Linked DNA regions of Homo sapiens: regions 1 and 2 are each linked to region 3. Evidence: promoter capture Hi-C in 16 types of primary human blood cells and fetal thymus (Javierre and others, 2016). All regions are on one chromosome and are shown on one strand. The core of a region is centred on a gene start or on the middle of the fragment in contact, and the rest is flanking DNA. Distances in the headings are between cores, read along the strand shown. Region 1 overlaps MCUB (mitochondrial calcium uniporter dominant negative subunit beta). Region 2 has its middle 9.5 kb from the start of MCUB. Region 3 holds the start of CFI (complement factor I).

Region 1 (3,661 bases), core at 1,055-3,554, 230 kb after region 3:
GCACTCCAGTCTGGGCGACAGAGCGAGACTCCATCTCAAAAAAAAAAAAAAAAAAAAAAAAAAAAAGAATTCAAGTACCCATTTTAGGCTATGAAACGATCAAGTTTTAGCAATATTCAAAGCTCTACTTCAATTAAGTCAGGTGACAGGCTGGGTCTGAGCCTTAGTTGCTTTATCAGTTGATCAATAAATACAGGGTAATATCAGTACCTATTTCCCAGGACTCCCAGAAGTGAGGGGGACTGAGTGAGACAAAGCTCATGATAGTGTATGGCACATGCTAAGCATTAGCTATCGTTTTACATGTATTATTAATGAAACAAAAGGAGTGCTGACTTCAAAAGCTGCTGGTATTAAAAACTGCACAGGATTTACTTGGAAAAAATTAGCTCTGTCATTAAAAATGATTGAATAAAGCACCTGAAGTTTTAACCTGGACTGAGGATTTTTCCATTTCAGTTTTAATAATATTAGAAAGTTCATGATTAAAGGAACCATAAAGAAATAATTTCTGCCCAGGTGTGGTGGCTCACGCCTGTAATCCCAGCACTTTGGGAGGCGGAGGCAGGCAGATCACTTGAGGTAAGAAGTTCAAGACCAGCCTGGCCCACATGGCGAAACCCTGGCTCTACTAAAAATACAAAAATTAGCTGGGCGTGGTGGCACATGCTTGTAATCCCATCTACTCAGGAGGCTGAGGTGGGAGGATCACTTGAACCTGGGAGGCAGAGGCTGCAGTGAGGCGAGATTGCGCCACTGCACTCCAGCCTGGGCAACAAAGTGAGACTCCATCTCAAAAAAAAACAAGAAAGAAAAGAAAGAATTTCTGAGTATCTGGCTTGGCCCTTGACACAGGGTTGTTGTCCACAACCCCTTCATCTTGCCCATCAATAGTAGTCCAAGGTTAGTACACCATCCCTAGTGGTTCCCCTGCGCCCACATCTCTGTGAATCATCCTTTGTGTATAAACTTCCCTCTAATTATCCTAATCTAAGTGGGCCATCTGTTTCCTGTTGGACCATGAATTATACAATCACTTTACACTCTCACTAGCAACACAAAAGAGTTCCCACATCATGCCATGCTTTACGCTTTGAGTTTTTTGTTTTTCTTTGGCAATTTGACAGGCAAAAAAAAAAAAAAAAAGGCAAATGTTATCTTTTTCTACTATTGTTTTTGCATTTTTTTGACTATCAGTGAGGCTGACCACTTTTCATGTTTATTTGCATTTTTATTCCCTGTTCTGAAAACCACTCATGTCTTTTACCCATTTCTTAATGTTTTTCTGATAAGTTTGAATGATCACTTCATATATATTTGTTATTTGGATGAAAGAAACAAATACCTACTTGACTTACCATAAGTAAGAATGGAAATTTACTCTGAGGACTTAGGAATGTCTCTAACGGAGACTACATAGAAGGATTTAATTAAGCCTCAGGAATGGACTCAGGATCAGGAACTGGAGTGTTATATTGAGGTTGGGAAGTCCTCTTGATCCGTATTTCGTCTCCTCCTATCTGCCTGTCAGCATCATTCTGCTTATCACTATAAAATGAATTGTTACTGCTTCTTGGTCCACATGGTAGAAAATGGTCACCACCAAATGGCCCCAAGTACAACTCCACTATTCAAAAGAGCAGCCAGCAGAGGTGAGAATCCTAGACTTAGTTCTAAATTCCTGGGTCAGGTGGCCAATTGAATGAAGGTCAGGTTGGACTAAGATGGCCAATTCGACTAAACCAGGTAGATAAGAGTGAAAAGGTTCCCAGGAAAGCAGTGTGACTAGCACAGACTACAAAGCTGTTCTAAAGTTTCAAAACCAAGAATATTACTATGCTATTATAATATTAATAATTTTAATGGTCACTGCTATACTTATGAAATGACCTTTTTCTAATGTCTAATAGCCTTACATAAATGGGATAACTATAAAGATATTTCATCCTAATTTAGTGTGAAAGATACATTAAGGTGGTATATTTTCTCTCCAAGAGAGGTTAGACTTTGGTGTCAGTTTTCACATAATTGCAGGCATAACAACTGTTGATTACGATGCTTAGTCACTGGCACAAATTCAGACTCCACTAATTAAATGGCAGCACAATCCCACTAAATTGAATAAACTAATTAAACGAATGTGGCTGGATTCGTTATAAAGTGAATTTCATATGTCAAGATGGACTATAACCTGTCAGTACAGCAGCCAAGCTTAAGCTCAAATGAACAACAGTTATGAGTAGTACACTTGAGTTGGTTTCAGGCAAAACCTCACAACAAACAGTCTAACCCCCAATGACCTTTTACAGAAAGATTAATAATATCATATCAATAAAAAGCTAAAACAAAATTACTCTCACTAAATAGTTATTACACTATAAATAAGCCAAAGCTTTTCCTTGGTGGGGAAGGCAGATGGTAAGGAGCGGGCAGAACAAGGGATGAACAGCAGTAGGCTAATTTTAGCAAGGCATCTGAGTTTATCAATCTCCAAACCTCAGTGGTTTCTGACATTGTGATAGATATCAAAGCTGGGTACCCAAGGGACCTCAGAGAACATCAGCGATGAAAGGAAGCGTAGAGATTAAGATCACCTCAGCTTCCATTCTGACCTGCGGCAGCCCTGGGTCTCAAATGCTCCTATTTAAGCTAACTTTTTGGCTTCTCAATAATCTACCCATCTTTCTTTCTACTCAGTCTAACTTCTCATGCAATTGTTAAGTCTCATACTTTTTTTGGATCTCTGTCTTACCCAATCCATCTCTGGGTTGGATTCTCTGTCCCTGGAACAAGTGCTGCTTCCCTGATTTCTATTCTAGGCACTAACACTGTATTTAAAATGAGCACTTCGTTATCAGTGCTTGACCAGTCCGGCTCTGTCTCCCATCCCTCCTTGGCCTGACCAGCGTGGCAGTGCTCATGAGTGCAGCTGCCACCTTCAAGTACTGCACAACAGCTGCTGTCTCATTCCTCATATGATGGTTATTAACGTCTTGTATATGCCCTCAAATTCTCCCTTTTTGACTGCTCTGTGAAAATAGATCTGGGACCTTTAAATATTTTTCCTTTGCTGACTGGCACTGAAGTTTTTTCAGTAGAGGACACTAGAGAGCCACTGACGGAGGAAAAGATTTTGCTTCCTGGTTCGGGTGTGTTCACTTCACAGGCTCCTATTGCATAGATATAGATGGCTTCTCCAGCACCAGGCTCTAGCTGTGTTGGCAGTTTTTCCAGTGCTTCTTTAGCTTCTGCCTGAGTTATTTTAGAAACTTGGGAGTCCTACACTTCAAGAAGCAGTCTATTAGGGAACAGCCAGAATGGATACAAAAATTTTCTTGAACTGAGCTGAACTCTGCCTACCTATTCTGCTCTATCTTGGGAGTAATTTCCTTGCTTGGAAGCAACACAGAATGACAACCTTCTTTCACATGATACCATCTCAGATATTTGAATGCAAATATCTTGCTTTTCCTCAGCTTCTTTTTCACTAGATTAAAAATATGCAGCCCCAGTCGGGCACAGTGGCTGACACCTATAATCCTGGCACTTTGGGAGGCAGAGCCAGGAGTTCAACACCAGTCTGGCCAACACGGTAAAACTCTGATTGTACTAAAAACGCAAAAATTAGCCGGGCATGGTGGTGGCGCGCCTGTAATCCTAG
Region 2 (3,394 bases), core at 115-2,614, 250 kb after region 3:
GACATATTACATACTTTTAAAATCTGTCTCCCCCAACTGGAATGTAAGCTCCATGACAGAAGGGACCTTGTCTGTTTTGTTCACTGCTCTATCACCAGCACCTAAGTAGTAGGTTCTCAAATATCTGCTGAATAAATTTAATAGATCAATAATAAAACAGGACTTTAAAACTACAACCGCCCTTAGGCTGGGCACAGTGGCTCACGCCTATAATCCTAGCACTTTGGGAGACCGAGGTGGGTGGATTGCCTGAGCTCAGGAGTTTGAGACCAGCCTGGGCAACATGGTGAAACCCCATCTATACTAAAATACAAAAAATTAGCCAGGCATGGTGGTGTGCACCTGTAATCCCAGCTACTCGGGAGGCTGAGACAGGAGAATCTCTTGAACCTGGGAGGCAGAGGTTGCAGTGAGCCGAGATCACTCCATTGCACTCCAGCCTGGGTGACAGAGCAAGAATCTGTCTCAAAAAAAACAAACAAACAAAAAAACAAACCCCAAAAAACTACAGCCACTTTTAAAAATAATAGAAACACACAAACTTGTGGTTAGTAGTACATGAGGATTTGCCAGACACTGTTCTAGGCTGATGGTAGAGTGATGAATAAAAACGATGAGTTTCTATATTCACAAACTATGTATTTGTCAAAGGACTAATATCCAGAATCTACAAAGAACTCAAACAAATCAGCAAGAAAAACACAAATAATCCCATCAAAAAGTGGGCAAAGGATGTGAATAGACAATTCTCAAAAGCTTATACAAACAGCCCACAAACATATCAAAAAATGCTCAACATCACTAATTATCAGGGAAATGCAAATTAAAACCACAATGAGATACCAACTTACTCCTGCAAGAATAGCCATAATTAAGAAGTGAAAAAACAATAGATGTTGGTGTAGATGTGGTGAAAAGAAAACACTTTTATACTGCTGGTGCTAATGTAAACTAGTCCAACCACTATGGAAAACAATATGAAGATTCCTTAAAGAATTAAAAGTAGATCTACCATTCAATCCAGCAATCCCAATCCCACTACTGTGTATCTACTCGAAGGAAAAGAATTCATTATATGAAAAAGACACGTGCACACACGTTTACAGAAGCACAATTTGCAACTGCAAAAATATGGAACAAACCTGAATGCCCATCACCCAAGTAAATAAAGAAAATGTGGTGTGTATATATATATACACACACCATGAAATACTACTCAGCCATAAAAAACAAAATAATGTCCTTTGTAGCAACTTAGATGGAGCTGGGGGCCATTATTCTAAGTGAAATAACTCCAGAATGGAAAACCAAATATAGTATGTTCTCGCTTATAAGCAGGGGCTAAGCTATGAGGATGCAAAGATGTAAGAATGATATAATGTACTTTGGGGATTCAGGTGTGGGGAAGGTTGGGTGGGGGTGAGGGATAAAAGACTACATAGTGGGGTCAGGCACGGTGGCTCATGCCTGTAGTCCCAGCACTTTGGGAGGCCGGGGCGGATGGATCGCTTGAGGCCAGGAGTTCAAGACTAGCCTGGCCAAAATGGCAAAACTCCATCTCTACTAAAAATACAAAAATTAGCCGGGCATGGTCGTGTGTGCCTGTAGTCGCAGTTACTCGGGTGGCTGAGGCATGAGAATCGCTTGAATCTGGGAGGCAGAGGTTGCAGTGAGCCAAGATTGGCCACTGCACTCCAGCCTGGGTGACAGAGCAAGACTCCAACTCAAAAAAAAAAAAAAAAAGAAAGAAAGACTACATATTAGGTACAGTGTATACTGCTTGGGTAATGGTGATGGGTGCATCAAAATCACAGAAATCACCACTGAAGGACTTATCCATGTAACCAAAACCACCTGTACCCCACAAAACTATTGAAATAAAAAAAAATTTAAAAAATTGACACTTAAGAACTTTTTTTTTTAAAGATGAGTTCTGTGTTCTTCCTTACACAGAACCTAGTGGGGAAGCTTGTTCACCTAGTGAACAAGTAATTAAGTAGAGTGACATAAAGGTTATAAGAGTAAAACTACAAGGGCTATGTGAACATACAGCAGGGAGACCCCACCTAAGCTAGTGGTAAGGGACAGGCTGGCATCAGTACACACTAATAACTGAAGGAGGAAGAGCAGCTAACCAGATAAAAAAGTAAAGATGAGTTCTTAGCAGGAGGAACAGCATGTTTACAGGCTCAGAGGCTTAAGAGGTCATAACCACTATTGTAATAAAGAGATAGGTCAAAAGCCTGAGAAAGTCTTTTTGGAATAAACCTGATAGCAAAAACAAACAAACAAAAAAAAACCCACAATTGTGACTTACTGGTGAGCATCGAGTTTTGAAGTCTGATGTTATGTACATGTAATGAACTAAGACTACTTGCTTCTTTCTGTATACCCATCTGTACTGGATGGTCTGAAGCAAAAAAGTGTAGTTAATACATCGATCACAGTAAAAGTGGAGGTAGCAGCAGCCCACATGATAATATTTTGGTTTTCCATGTCCAGTGTGGAATAATTGCAGTGAAGGTGGAAAGTGATAGGAGGGCAAAGGGCAGGCTCAATGTGGGAGTATTATTACTATTATTACTGTTGTGCTGTTATTTTGTTAAGACATTGACTGCCATTTATCAAGTATTTACTACAAGTAAGGTGCTGCACAAGAAACTTTACATACTCGTTCCATATAATTCTCACAAAACTCTTACCAAGGAACCATTATTCTCTAGTAGGGATATGAAAGCTCAGAGAAGTTTAGAAACTTACCCCAGGTAACACAGCTAACAGAGGAACTATAATTCAAATTTTGTTCTGTTTGGCTTGCAAACCCATATTCTTTCTATTACAGTCAGTCTAACATAATGTGACAGATCCAGTGCTAGAACTGAATTCTTTTTCACTATCAAATTTATTCCCACTATACCTCTCAGACTGTCTTCTAATTTCCCTTCAGCACAGTACGGAATGTTGGTTGGTTGGCATTCTTTACCTGGTGGGAGATGCAAATCTTACTTTTGAAGAGTTTGAATCATTAGTGATCCATTCTTTTATTAGGCTGCTATATTTCTTTAACTTTTAGTACTGAACATAGAAGTATTACGAGGCACTCTGGAAAAATCCTCTAGATTTTCGATATAGTCCTCCTTGCCCCATTATGTCACAGCAAATCAATTCCTCTTCATAATCAGGATGATTCTTCTTCTGGTTGTTGACAAAAGGAACCCAAAATGGCTAGGTAATACTCGTAACTTCCAATACAGTGGGAACATTGCTGTGTCCCTTTGAGAACTAAGCATCTCTCCTTTGTAAACTAAGACCCTAAAATTTGGGGACTATATTAAGGGAATGATTTCACTTTCAATTCTTGATTCTTAGACCTGTGTGTCTGGCTACAGGGGAA
Region 3 (3,452 bases), core at 801-3,300:
CAGAAGCTGGTGGACTTACAGAATGTTATAATGGGCTGCTGAGGACAGAGCTGAGGTGCCAGTTAAATGCAAAACTTTGTGAGAATGGGGTGCTATCCTCCAGGAAGCAGTATATACATTCAATCAAAGACTTTCATATAGCATTATGTTCCCAATAGGAAGAATACCTGGGTCTGGGAACCAAGGAATAAAGGCAAGAATTACCACACTTACCATCACCACCATTGACCAACTGGGGGCTTTGTGCATCTTGTCTCCACAGTTGTAGACTCTGCAGGGTTCGTTATCTTGGTCTCCAAAGGACTATACTTTCACCAGGGGCAAGCAAGAGTCCCATGGAATTATAAACCAGAGCTGTTGCCTGGGGTACGCTGGGCTCTTTGTGTCTAGGAACTAGCAAGAAAGAGTCAGAATCCACAAGGGTAATTGGCCCTGATCATTCCGAGGAAGTAGGGCTGCTATTACTATAATGTGGGCAGGGAGGAAGATGTGTAGAACCCACATAACCTACTGGGGTACCTCTTATTTTTTGCTTTTTTTGGTTTCTTTTTTAAGAGAGGGTCTCTCTTTGTCACTTAGGCTAGAGTGCAGTGGTGCAATCATGGCTAACTGCAGCCTCAACCTCTCCCTGTGTTGCCCAGGCTCATCTCAAACTCCTGGCCTCAAGCAATCCTCCTGCCTTGACCTCCCAAAGTGCTGGGATTACAGGAGTGAGCCACCATGTCCAGCCTGCCTCTTGTGACAGTAGGGATAAAAATGGCAACTTTTGCCTGAGAAACAAAAGGTAACCAGGGGCTCAGACCACTCCTGAAAGAGAGTGTGGGACATGTCATCCAGTAAGTCACCGAGACCAGCAGAGGTGGGAGGTCAAGGTAAAGGGAATCTAAAATGGATAGGAAGGGGGCCAAGGGTAAGTTTCAACTACAGCCCCAAGATCAACTGCAAGGGTAGGAGCTGTAGTTTTTCCCATTAACTTCCTCTTCTAAGTTTTCTCTCAAGAATAGGGACCCACTGAAATGTTTAAGGAGCCACTCCTGGAGTGTATATGGAACATAGATCTAAGAGGTGCAAGTATGTACTCTGAAAGACACAGAGATGAGTTTCCCAGAACCCTTGTCAAGGAAGGTCTTGCTACCTGGCTGTAAAGAGTGTAGTCAGAAGATACCTCCTCCTGATAGCACATAACTGTCAGATCCTTCTGTGTCTGCCTTAGCTACAGAAAACTGTCTCACCTAAGTGTATGCCCTTCCTGGGCAATATATAGTAGGGGACCAAGCAAGGCAGAATATAATGGCCCAGCCATTTATACTGAAATCAGGGGCACTGTGACAGGTCACACTCACTCCAGTTCAACTTCTACCTCTGTTCACCCCTGCTTCCCCTCCCTTCCTTGTATGGATATCGATCCCTAACAAACACTTGTGCCCCACACTCACTGTCTCAAGTCTGCTTCTGATGAACCCAACTGTGTCAGCATTTCTGCTATCACAGATTTATTTCATAAATAGATAAACCCTGCATGATAGTTGGTACTGGCACAAGAATACTTGTTTTTAAAATTTCTTGTACTCCAAAAATACAATTTGATCACAGCACAACAAATGCATGGTAAAGAAGCTGGTTTCTAGAGTTTTAAATGTATTTTGCAGCCTTCACTATATGGTCTACTTTTATTCTTACTGTCTCCTAGTCTTCAACCTTAAGTTTAAAAAATTATATTTTTACTGTACAAAAAAAAAACCAAAAAATTGCTTCCAATATAATTTCTGTCTTCCCTGGAATACAGAATTGAGTCATTGCAATTAACAGGGTGGGAGGAAATCAGTCTCTTCTGGTGGAAACAAGTTCCTATTGGTCACCTCCCTCAGCTCTTTAATGGGAAGGCCATTTTTTGGTTTCAGTTACGGTAAATCTCTCTGGATTTCAGCCAAATTCTTTCAGAGTTCAAAAGTACAAAGCTCTTTAGGAGGTTTGTTCTTTTGAAACATTTTTTCAGAGGTTAAAAATTAAATTTCAAAAGAATACCTGGAGTGGAAAAGAGTTCTCAGCAGAGACAAAGACCCCGAACACCTCCAACATGAAGCTTCTTCATGTTTTCCTGTTATTTCTGTGCTTCCACTTAAGGTTTTGCAAGGTAAGTAATTCAACCTTTATGCAAACAATTTTAATTGATAATTTAAAGGTTGTAAAAACATAGAAAATAATCTTAAATATATAATTTTGATTTAAATATTACATAGTTCAGTTACAACAATGCCACTCTATAGTCAGCAACAAATGTTTTATGTTAATATCTTGATAAAAGTGATTTTTTAAAAATAGTTCTTTTTATGTGCTTATATATGCAGAGGCATTGAACTGAACAAGAATTTTACTAATACAAGGCTGTGATTTACTGTAATTGTAGTAAATCAAAAATATTTACCAGGCTCCTCCTGTGTGTAAGGTACAGTGCTACGAAGACAGTGAGACTGATCTCTTCCTTCAACAGCCTCTTAGTACGCTCTATAGTTATAGAAAGGGGAAATAATAAGCAAATTTGAAACATCTGAAAACACAAAAGTGCAAGTTACAAGACAGTATATATTTAATTGTCAAAAGTGATACAAATATGTGGTAAAGGACTTCAATGAGAGGACAAATCACTTCATGCTGAGAGGTCATGAAGAGATTATAGATCAAGTAGGATTTGAGCTGAACGTTTAATTCTGTATTACATGTGATCAGTGGTGAGAAAGAGGAGTGATTTCCAGCTTCTTTAGCCAGGAAAAGCAGCAAGTGCTACCATAGGAAGGCAGCAATGCACTAGGCCCCTCCAAATAAATGAATCCATTTGATCAGAATGAAGGCTTTGTGGGCTACAAAGGAACTCGAAACTGAAATGACATATTTTATTGAAGTTAGAGTGTCATCTATTAAGGTGAAAAATGTTTAAAATATTTTGGATACTTATTGATGATTGCCAACTTTGGTGGCAATCCAAAACTATCTTGTCTTAGTGCCAGCTTGTAGAAGAAAATATTTAAAGAAAACTACTTAAGAAAACACACTTTAAGATTCTTGTAACTTCTAAAATAGTTGCCATCATTGCAATGTTTATAATAGAGAATAAATGGAAATAACTAAATGCTTATTAATAAGACACTGGTTAAATTATTGTATATCCAAAATTGAACTATTACATAGCCATTGAAATGACATATTTATCTAAATAAAAAGTCCTTACTACAATTTTATTTTTATTGAAGAAAAACACACACACACATATGTATGTGTGTTTATATGCATATATATAAATGCATACTTATACCTACTTATATATATGACTAAAAGATCTTACAGTGTATGTATCAAACAGTTAATAGTTGCTATCATTGGCTAATAAGATTACTGGTGATTCTATTTTCTGTTTTCGGTTTTACTGAACCTACTCAGACAAGGAAACTAGGGGA

Evidence for each region. The method cuts DNA at HindIII sites, captures the fragments that hold promoters and counts their contacts. A CHiCAGO score of 5 or more calls a contact.
Region 1: a contact is called between a fragment that was not itself captured here and the fragment with the promoter of CFI in region 3, in 1 of 17 cell types (erythroblasts). The highest score is 5.7, in erythroblasts.
Region 2: a contact is called between a fragment that was not itself captured here and the fragment with the promoter of CFI in region 3, in 2 of 17 cell types (naive B cells and total B cells). The highest score is 6.1, in naive B cells.

Annotation. Positions count from the first base shown.
Region 1 is chr4:109,574,004-109,577,664 of GRCh38, reverse strand. All of the region lies in intron 1 of MCUB (mitochondrial calcium uniporter dominant negative subunit beta), which reads right to left. Among named protein-coding and RNA genes, the nearest start is that of MCUB, 16 kb to the right of the region's middle. The HindIII fragment of the contact is 181 bases long and covers 2,214-2,394 here.
Region 2 is chr4:109,549,036-109,552,429 of GRCh38, reverse strand. No RefSeq gene overlaps it. Among named protein-coding and RNA genes, the nearest start is that of MCUB, 9.5 kb to the left of the region's middle. The HindIII fragment of the contact is 1,212 bases long and covers 759-1,970 here.
Region 3 is chr4:109,800,597-109,804,048 of GRCh38, reverse strand. It overlaps CFI (complement factor I), which reads left to right and starts at 2,050. Exons shown (of 13, transcript NM_000204.5): 1 at 2,050-2,134. The coding sequence starts at 2,078. LOC124900757 (a long non-coding RNA gene) reads right to left here and starts at 377. Exons shown (of 2, transcript XR_007058226.1): 1 at 214-377. The HindIII fragment of the contact is 11,045 bases long and covers 1-2,085 here.